Regions from separate parts of the Homo sapiens genome. Here regions 1 and 3 are each linked to region 2. The links are contacts of gene promoters, found by promoter capture Hi-C in blood cells and fetal thymus (Javierre and others, 2016). All regions are on one chromosome and are shown on one strand. Each heading gives the region's core, a stretch centred on a gene start or on the middle of the fragment in contact. The rest is flanking DNA. Distances are from core to core; before and after follow the strand shown. Region 1 overlaps CTNND2 (catenin delta 2). Region 2 holds the start of DNAH5 (dynein axonemal heavy chain 5). Region 3 overlaps CTNND2 (catenin delta 2).

Region 1 (3,553 bases), core at 1,019-3,518, 3.0 Mb before region 2:
AATCACGCCTCAATGCTCAGCTCTTGAAGCCATCACGGGTTTTGGATCCTGGATGCCTATTAGAATTCATTACCTGGAATCCTTTAAAAAAAATACTGAGGCTTGAACCCCACCCAATGCCAGCTGGCCAGAAGTCCTGGGTACAAATGCAATGGCAGACAGGGAAGAAAACCATGCAGCTCAGACAGCTGCAGCACCTTCATCACTTGTAGGACAAGCCTGGAGCTGCAATGACTTGATCAAGGACTGAACCTCCCTGATCCACAGTGACCCTGTGTAGGTGGAGAGAATGCCCAGGCTCTGCTGTGAGGGAAGAGAGGTTCCAGGGGAGAGGACAAAGGCTGGGACTTGGGCCATCTCTGTCCCGAATGTGAATCTGGGGAGATGTGAGGGGCAGCCACTGTGTCGTATGAAGATTGGGGTTCTGTTGCTTGGAGAGGGAACCTCTGCAAGAACAACTGAGTCCTTAGCAAGCTCTGTGCCCTGTCACTCAACTGGGCTCTGCATCCAGTTCCTGTCTGCTCGCTGGTTCCTCGCTAACCTCTTCCACCTGCTGCCCCCTTCTCTTTGGTTCACCATCTTTCTCTTCCAGGAAAGTCTCTCTTCCTGCCTTTGCCCTTTTGCCTCTGGGTCTTCCCTAATAAAGGTTAGCCTTTTATGAGTTACTGCCACATAATCATGAAGGGACAATATTTTAAAACCTGTTGACCACAGCTTTTAAAATTAGAATCCAATATTGCCCAGATGGTGGTGTTTATTAAACCACATCAAGTGTGTAATTATCTCCTGAGACCTCACACACAGCGGTGCTCCAAGTCTCTGGTAAATCAGGATTAAGTTCTGGGAAAAATCAAATCACGCAAACAAGTGTTTATTAGGTGTCTGGATGTGCCTCGCCTAGGAAGTCCTGAGGCAGCGCACTGTCTGCATGGCTGGTTGAACACAGCCCTGCCTGCTCGCGAGAAAAGGCTGCTTCTCTCTTCCAGCCCTTGCCGATCCATCATGTCGTTTCATTCTCATAACACTGATTGGCTCACTGTAATTCTTAATAATCACTGCTTTCCAAAAGACACCATCCATATGCTTTCCACACTCCATGCGCTTTATCTTTTTAAGCCTGCTGGAATTACAGAAATAAGAGGCCTAAGAGGCCACCTCCATGCTTCTGAGATGGGTGGACGTTTCCACAGGTACAGGGGGTTCCTGATCGTCACCCAGGGTTGGACTAAATGTGATAAGCAATGACAGTACACTAGAAGGATCAGCTTTCACAGAGCTGGGAGCGGGCCATTTATTTCAGTCAGATATTGGCCATTCATTTCTCATCATGTTGACAGTAAAGTCTGGCGTGGAGTTCTGCAACCATCATTCTCGCGGGTAGGGAGACCACTTTGCTGGGCAATGCTCTCTACCAGGTCCTCCCAGGTGTCATTTCAGAGAATAGGATTTCCTCAGCAGGGAGAGGGCAGAGAAGAGTAGGAAGAAAGCTTTCATAAATAAGAGCCTACATAGCTGTCATCTGTGTGGGTGCATATAACTTGTTATCCATCTTTCACTCTCAGAACAAAATCAAAATGCAGAAATCAAAATAAAAGTTTTAAAAACTAAACTGTGAGGAAAACAGCAAATTTATGCCATTTATATTACTAAATGGTGTGTTCACATTTGCCTTTCATCTTTCCTCTGATTTTTGGCATTTCTTAATGTGAATTAAAAAGGGTATAAAAATCAAGTATTTTTACGAATACAAGAAGTTCAAAATTTAAGCAATAGGAATGTGACAAAATTAGAAAAAAATTAAATGGAATGACATGGAAGTTATAGTTGGCTACGATAATAATTTATCAGTGGCATCTGCCGGTTTATCATTAATAATGAAAAGCCAATTAGATGTGGAACAGTTATGAAAGCATCAGTGCTATGTGTCAAATGTATATCACACTGAAGGAAGAAAGCACATTTGGTCTCCTCAACTTTTTATCCCAATTATGACAAAATGCAACTCAAACTATTTTTATTTTATTTATTTATTTATTTATTGAGACGGAGTCTCACTCTGTCACCCAGGCTGGGGTGCAGTGGCGCGATCTCTGCTCACTGAAATCTCGGCCTCCCGGGTTCAAGTGATTCTCCTGCCTCAGCCTCCCGAGTAGCTGGGATTACAGGCGTGTGCCAACAAGCCCGGCTAATTTTTGTATTTTTACTAGAGACGGGGTTTCACCATGTTGCCCAGGATGGTTTCGAACTCCCGAGCTCAGGCAATCCGCCTGCCTCAGCCTCTTAACATGCTGGGATTACAGGCATGAGCCACCTCGCCAGGCCAACTCAAACTATTTTAAGTTGGAAAAATTGTCCACGGAAACCCCGGATTTGCAGACACATGACAGTTTTCTTTATACTCGTTCCTCCTGAATTCAGGTTCATTACGTGCATGTCATGCATAAGAACCTGTTAGAGAAGGAGATTTGCTCTGAGTCTGTGTATACAAAACACAGAGTGGCCACCACAGTACAAAGAACAGATTCATTTCCTACTTCTAGCGAAGGTCTGAATGGAAGGCTCTCCTCTGAGTACGGGTTGGCTCACGGACTGGGAAGGACCGTCTTTGCTCAACGAGAAATAAAGCCTGGCTGGCTAGCCACGGCAGCCTCTTACCTGAGCGGTTGTTGGGAGACACGCGCACAGGGGAGATGGAGGGCGTGCGGGAGGAGGAGTAGGGCCTTTGCCGGTCCCTCTCGATGGTTGAAGACGAGGCTACAAAGTGGTATTGTGACCATCCATCCTGCAAAACACAGCACGCTCCTGTTAGATGGGCAAGACAGAGTGATTTTTCACCTCCGGACATTTTTAAGTTCCAAGTATCTGGATTTGCATAATATTTCTATGGTGTGTCAGAAGAGGTTCTTGAAGTTCTGCGCTCTCATGGAGGTGAACAGAGCCAAATGTGAATGAAGACACACCTCCTTCCCTCCAGAGAGCCTGGCGGGTAGGGCCTGCTTTCCTTCATGAATGTTGAATAAATGGTCCCTTTACAAACCCGCTCTGGTCAGAAGCTTCGACTTCGATGAAAATACGATGCTCAGAATGTTAGGGGACCCGGAAACTGTCTATTTTTTGCCGACCTGGTTCCAGCTCTGCCTGGCTCCCTCTTCCGCTGCCTCAAGATTTTCCACAAGGGTTTACCCCTTTGCTCCCAGGACCTATCTGTTGGCAACCAGAATCCAGGGCAGCGTCCTCCCTTCCCGTTTACCTGCCTGTGTCCTTTCCAGCCCCAAATGCCCACCCTCGCCTGTCTCCAAGCTGGTCTGCTCCAGGAATGATATTTTTCAATATAGAGCATATTCAAAATGCATCCTACCAAGCCTCCGTTAGGCTTCTGACATCTAGTTAATATACAGAAAGCATCTATACTATTTTTCCTTATAAAAACCGCATAAATATATCACAGATTATTTTGTGAATTTACAAAGCATAAAGAAGAAAATAAAAATAGGTGGTAATTCCACCCTCTCCACCTGAGAGAACTCCTGTTAACCTGTCATGGTATTTCCTT
Region 2 (3,561 bases), core at 997-3,496:
TATCAGTTGACAAACTTTCCTTGCTTGGCCAAACTTTAGTCAGGTTCCTGAATCTTCTCCTAGGCCCATCTGTACACTTCCTTGTAAAATCTAGTTTTAGCAAAGAACTCTGCTAAGTCAGTTAACAAGAACCCCTGTAGAGGGTACTCAATATCTGATCACCGTCAGTCGCTGATTGGGTTCCTCATCCTCCACCATCCCCCACGTGCTGTCTCATCCCCCTGGCCTTTCTTCAGCAAGAATCCTGGTAGGTCGTCAGTTTAGCCAGAATCCCCCTCCCCATTGATGTCTCCTCTAAGCACTTTCCTATCCACTGACCCCTGCCCTGCTCCTTGGCTACAAATCCTCACTTGGCCATGCCATATTCACAGTTGAGCCCAATCTCTCCCATCACTCCCCAGATAGGTCCTTATACCTAACACGACGGTCGTGAATAAAGTCTTACTTTACCATGCTTTACCAAGTGTCACTGAATAATTTTTTTTCTTTAACACAGTGCACTAAGTAGAAACTGTGTAATTATTTACATAATACACTGCAATACTATTAAGGTAATTCTGTTAATATTATACTTCAGTGGAGTGAACCAAACCAGCATCCTAAATATATAATTGAAACCTCCAAAAGACTTGACTTACTCTCAAAACATAGTTCATGTCAAGGAAGAATAATTCATTAATTATACCTGAGATTTTATCATCAATTGTGGTGTTTCAGACTTGGTACTGAAGCACAGGAAAAATGTTCAGACATGTGAAATGTTTAATTCATTCAACTTATTCCACAAGCATATATTAAGGACCAAGCATATACTATGGACCAAGCTCTGTGTTAAAGGAAGATTATTTTAAAATGGAGAGAACTCGCAATCTAGCAAGAGAAAGAGACATGTGGGTAAATGTCATTTCACTACAGTGATGTGACAAGGACTCTATAAGACATCGAAGGAAAGTGCTGACAGGGTACAGGAAGGAAACTCACACCTCCTCCTCAAAGTGTCAGGGGACGCTTCTCAGAGGAGGTAACACTAGCACTTGGTCTTGAAGAATAAGCAGTGCATGGACTGGCTGGAGTCAGCTCTTCCAGAATGGTCTTCTAACTCTAGCAAGCAAGTTCAGGGGCTTGGCTGCAAGACGTTCACCTTGGGAAGGATGCATCAGAATCTTGTGGCTTGGGCAAGTGAGGGGTGGCAGATGGTGGCATACTTAAAAAATTCAGAGGTAGATGCCTGCTCTTTTGTGGTAAAAACAACAGGCTAGGGGGGATCATGTGAGCTTCTGGGGATACACAAAAAGACACAGTGATCAAGCCCAGTAGGAAGCATGGGTTAATGGTTGAGAACTGAGTCCTAGAGAAACCTCCAATTTCTTCTGACGTTAATTGGCAGTGGAAGAGGTTTCCAAATCCCTCTCTATGCATTTGCATAATAAAAAGCTGCTGAGCTGAGCCCTGTGCTAGGGAAGTTCATTCTTCAATGTGATTTCCAAAGGCACAGCCTTGCATCTCACTGTCTGTGACCTCATTTGCAGGCATATAGAACAGGGGAGTGATTTCAAAGCCTAAACCTTGCAGCCTAGAATCTGCCTTAACTATTTCTAATCACCAACTAAAGTTTACAGGTTTGAAAGAATACAAAGTGCCCAAACCACTATGAATGTGTTTTTGACCCCAGGAAAGCATCTTCCCAAAAGATGCAGCATGAATTTCTAGGTGCGTAGTTTAAGCGGCAACGTGCAGAAAAGCCTACAGATGCAAAATTTTTTTTATTTAAAAAATGAATATGTAGCCTATGCACCAGGTGAACATTAGTTAAAAAATGTGTTTCTCGCAAATTCATCAGTGTGTGACTTTGAACCTTTTTCAAGTTTGTTTTTTCCACCCAGGTGTGACAGATGATAATCCAAAACACACATGCAAAGGTACAGACAACAGCACCTTACCGTTAAAACTCGAGTGACGCTATGCTTCCAGAGCTGTCTCCTCCCAATCCTAAACATTGTAGCCGTGCATGGACAGGCTGGAGTCAGCTCTTCCGGAATGGTCTTCTAACTCCTGGCAGACCTGCTCAACATCCAACAGGCTTCCAAATGGAAAGTTTTACTTCCATTTTACTTTCACGTTTCTAATTTGCATGTATTATTCACTACATTCACAGAATAAAAATTAAAACTCCACTTATACCACTCAAGTTTTTCTCCTAGAGTGTCTGCCCTGGGCCTCTCCTCTCTCTCGAAGCCTGGTGTTGTTAGGGTAATATTGTTTATACACTATACAGTTGAACCATGCCTCTTAATCATGTTTATCAAGCAATCAAAGCATTTTAACTGCTCGGTAGCAACACAACTCCTTCTGTTGTTCAATTAATTCTATTCACTGCCCAATAATAAGCATTGAGTCAACAGTGATATCTAAATAGTTTCTTTGAACAATGAGAAACTTTAAACCATATCAGATTAGAAATCCAAGAAGCCACAGCTCTGAATATATTGTCCATGTCGAGAAACTCAGTCTTACTTTGTGTAAACAACTTTGCAAGCACGATGCACTGCCAGCATTGTGACTAATTGTGACTAATTGCCAGATAGGCTAATTGTGACCCATAGGAGCCATTTTCTCCACCACAAAGAACAAGAAGTCTGTTTCATATGCAAATAGCAAACCATGTCCATAAATTACTTGTGCTCACACAGTTGCACATACACTTCAGCCAAGGTAATTTATCCTATGTGGCTAAACATCTTGATCATCTTAACTGTGAAGATGTAATGGGAAAACACTGCCAAATGCTTTGAGAGATCTCTCATGTATGGTTTCTCCCATCGAGTTGAATAAAAGGCAGGACACTTAAGGTTGGTCTTGTTGAATCTAGAATTTAGTCCTTGGAATTCACAGTCCAGCAACTCAAATCCTAAAAGGTCATCCAAGGATAATCAGGAAATTGGGAACTCATCCTGGTAACATCCTGCTAGTCAACCTCTGTGGAGCCTGACTTGGAAGGCAGGGTGCTGACATGGTTTCAGAACATGGAGATTCACTTGGTCCATATCCAATGCTAGGGCACGGACGGCCTCCATATGTCAGGTTAACAGACAACATTTAGACCTCAATATTATTTGGTAAGTAAATAACTAGAACACAGGAAGTTTAAGTTTGTTTGCAGGATTTTTTTTTTCTTTTTTGAGACCTGCAGGTCTCACTCTGTCACACAGGCTGGAGTGCAGTTGCGTGACCACCACTCACCACAGCCTCAACCTCCCAGGCTCAGGTGATCCTCCCACCTCAGCCTTCCTAGTAACTGGGACTACAGGCAAGTGTCACAACACGCGGCTAATTTTTGTATTTTTTGTAGAAACAGGTTTGGCCACATTGCCCAGGCTGGTCTCAAACTCCTGGCCTCAAGCAATTGCCCACCTCGGCCTCCCAAAGTGCTGGGATTATACGCATGAGCCACCAGGCCAGGCCCTGCAGGATATTTGTTGAAGTCAACCTCTGGTTGTTGGTAAGCGGCTGTTGTCCGTTTCTAATAAAAAGTGTTGAAGACAGTATCTAGACTCTGAGTCC
Region 3 (3,431 bases), core at 437-2,936, 2.7 Mb before region 2:
GAATTAACTTCACAAATATACTTGGAACAAGACATAAAGCTGCAGAGTGTCACCACATTTAACTCTCTGCTGTAATAAGTGCCACAGACAAATAGAGTTAAATGGGTTAATTAGTCACCAGTGGCCATTTTAATTGCAGTATTGAAAATCAGGCACAAATGCTAGAAGAATTCTCATTACAGGGTTACCTGGGCTTTCATGGGAGGGTTCGCTTGGGAGAGCGGCATCTCTAAAACATTGTGGAACTGATTACATCTCTTCCTCCCCTTTACCTTTCATAATTAGCTGTACACTATTAAGTTAATGCACATTTATCTACAACAATTCAATTCAGACTGCAAGAGAGAATCTTTCTAGTCTATAATTACACTCCAGCTTAATTAGCATAATTTCCACTGCACATATTTTAATAAAGAAGCTGCCATTATGGGTTGGCTTCAGAAGTGGAAACTCTTCCAGGGAGATACAAATGCTTCCTACTCTCGAACTGCCACAAATGCAAAGAGACGACCTAAAGCTGACTTTCTTTTTTGAGACGGAGTCCAACTCTGTTGCCCAGGCTGGAGTGCAATGGCGCGATCTCAGCTCACTGCAACCTCCATCTCCAGGGTTCAAGCAATTCTCCTGCCTCAGCCTCCCGAGTAGCTGGGACTACAGGCGCCCGCCACCACGCCCGGCTAATTTTTGTATTTTTAGTAGAGATGGGTTTTCGCCATGTTGGCCAGTCTGGCCTCGAACTTCTGACCTCAGGTAATCCACCCACCTCGGCCTCCCAAAGTGCTGGAATTACAGGCGTGAGCCACCGTGCCCGACCTGAAGCTGACTTTCCATGAGACAGTACTGTTGGGAAGGGCATGCTTCTGCAGGAGGGGACCTGATGGATTCTCCCCACGTGGAGCTAACGGCTAATCCTCAGTGATGGCTGATGGCTGGTGATGGGTGATTTGGCAATTGGGCTACGTGGTGATGGGGTTTGACCTCATCAGTCTGTAAATGTCTCATCTGAGAGGCTTGAAAAACATTTCTACAGTTTATTTTGGATCTGCCTCTCCAGGGGAAAGCCATTTGAGTGCCTGCAATCCAGCCACCACTAGATGTCACCAGTCATTAACTGGGACACAGATAAATGAGCCCTTTAAGATATTTTTATTAACTTGAAAGACCTAAGCAACTGGTTGTCTTTTCTGCAACTCCCTTGTGTGGGGGCCTGTTAACAACGAGGGAACCAATCTATTTGCCCAGCCCTGAAATGGCAAATGCCCACCGTGTGATTTAAAAGGACTGCACACACTTTGCAAATGTTAGAAACCTGTCCTGATAATAACCAGAATTGTCTGATATAAAGGAAAATCTTCAGTTCTAGTAGCTCATTATATTTTGCACAAACATCTGGCTATTCAAATAAAGTTCGCAAAAAAGATTTTGCCAGTGGCATTAATGTTCTTACTAGATCCCTTAGAGAGAAGAATGAGAGGCATTTTGCCTCCTCTGAATTTCCTGATGTTGAACGTGAAGTCATAGTATGATGCACAAGAAGATGGGCTTTGAAAAAGAGTAGGAAATCATCGCTGTCATCCAGAAAAACTTTAATGAGAAAACTAGAAAGGAGGCAGATGGAACAAACCAATGATTGTTGCGAAGTCCCAAAAAACTGTTTCAAATCCAAAAGTGGCAATGGTAGAAGGTGTGATTCTACCAATGGTTGAAGAGACCTTGAAAGAAGTAGGGGTTTTTAGAGATGCTAGACACCAGCATCATTTCTGGAAAATCCAGGTAGGTGCCATGAGGCACGGAACATGTGTCAAACATTTCCTTTTCCACATGGATATTTAAAAATGTAAACATTTTTAAAAACCTATTTTGAGTGAGTTTAAATAGTAATTTCAGTAAGGTATCTTCTCAGTCACCAAAGATTCGATTTAAAAATAATGCAACAGCCCAGGCACGGTAGCTCATGCCTGCAATCCCAGCACTTTGGGAGGCTGAGGTGGGCAGATCACTTGAGGCCAAGAGTTCAAGATCAGCCTAGACAACATGGTGAAACCTCATCTCTACTAAAAAGTACAAAAAATTAGCTGGGCGTGGTGGCATGCACCTGCAGTCTCAGCTACTCAGTGTTGGGGGCTGAGGCACGAGAATTGCTTGAACTTGACCTGAGAGGTGGAGGTTGCAGTGAGCCAAGATCATGCCACTGCACTCCAGCCTGGGTAGCCTGGGTGATGGAGTAAGACTCTGATACACACAAAAGAAAAAATAACATAAAAATAACATAGCAAATATATATATAAAGTACTATCACACTATAATGGTGTAATGGATTAAAAAATGATGTAATGAAGACTCATTTATGCCATCACAATCTGCATTTTTTTACCACAACACTAACCATTTAGAGCTCATGTGCCTGCAGACAGTTACTTAAATTTGTACTTATGTCTTCAAAATTACGGGTAATTTTTTTTCTTTTAAAACAAGATGTTCATTGCAGGGAGCAATGTGCACACTGACCCTTTTAAACTCTGCCACTGTTGCAAAGGTTTTCAGTAGGATTCTCATAGCGGTCTGAAGAGATAGGGAATGTTAGTTAACAAAACTGAACTGTCCTCATTTCAACCATGCATAAATGCTCACTCTGTTCCTTTTACCGAAACTTTTCCTTTAGAAATACAACAACACAGCTAAGAGCATGGCCTCTGGAGGCTACCTGCCTTGGCTTGAGTCCAGCTTCTCTGCTTACTGACTGTGAGACTGTGGGCAAGCTACATTAGCTCCCCGGGATTTAGTTTGCTCAGCTGTAAAATGGAAAAATAACAGCAGCCAGCTTATAGAAGTGAAGAGGAATGAATGGGGGAAAGCGAGGCAGTGCGCTTTGAACAGCGCTTACCCCAAGCTAGTGATACTGAATCACTCATCTTTATTTGCTCCTTAGCCTTCAAAAATGTAAGAAAACAGCTTTATAACACTTTGGGGCCCTTGATCTGCAAAACTTCTCTTTGAAATCTATTCTCGTTTATTATAATAGAAATGCTAGAAAATAGTTTCCTCTGATTTATTGATCTTACCAAAATAGATACAGTCTTTAAAAACAGCACACTGTCTCTTCACTTCAGAAGGATCTAGATTTCAGGCTACATTTGCATTGTATTCATACCTAATATTCAACTGGACCACAGCACGTATTTAACTCATTGTACTGTAATGGGGTTGAATGAACTGACATAGATTGCTATGTTTAATATAAAGAAATCAGTGCTTCTGGCTCCACAAAGACCACATGAATAGGAAGTTCACAATAGATGGTTGGCATAAATGTCAATATTCACAAAAAAGGTGCCTCTCTTTGAAACTGCTGCCAGAGTTCCTCTCCAGACTTGTACTTTGGACCCCTGCAGAATGATTTTTACAGGAGTAAAATCCCTCCCCCCTCAGAA

What was found. The method cuts DNA at HindIII sites, captures the fragments that hold promoters and counts their contacts. A CHiCAGO score of 5 or more calls a contact.
Region 1: a fragment that was not itself captured here is called in contact with the fragment with the promoter of DNAH5 in region 2 in 1 of 17 cell types (endothelial precursors); the score reaches 5.6 in endothelial precursors.
Region 3: a fragment that was not itself captured here is called in contact with the fragment with the promoter of DNAH5 in region 2 in 1 of 17 cell types (endothelial precursors); the score reaches 5.2 in endothelial precursors.

The regions. Positions count from the first base shown.
Region 1 is chr5:10,989,896-10,993,448 of GRCh38, forward strand. CTNND2 (catenin delta 2) reads right to left here. Exons shown (of 22, transcript NM_001332.4): 19 at 2,656-2,782. Among named protein-coding and RNA genes, the nearest start is that of CTD-2154B17.1, 200 kb to the left of the region's middle. The HindIII fragment of the contact is 1,566 bases long and covers 1,486-3,051 here.
Region 2 is chr5:13,942,442-13,946,002 of GRCh38, forward strand. It overlaps DNAH5 (dynein axonemal heavy chain 5), which reads right to left and starts at 2,247. Exons shown (of 79, transcript NM_001369.3): 1 at 1,941-2,247. The coding sequence starts at 1,997. The HindIII fragment of the contact is 10,431 bases long and covers 1-3,561 here.
Region 3 is chr5:11,266,365-11,269,795 of GRCh38, forward strand. All of the region lies in intron 9 of CTNND2 (catenin delta 2), which reads right to left. Among named protein-coding and RNA genes, the nearest start is that of CTD-2154B17.1, 480 kb to the left of the region's middle. The HindIII fragment of the contact is 5,464 bases long and covers 1-3,431 here.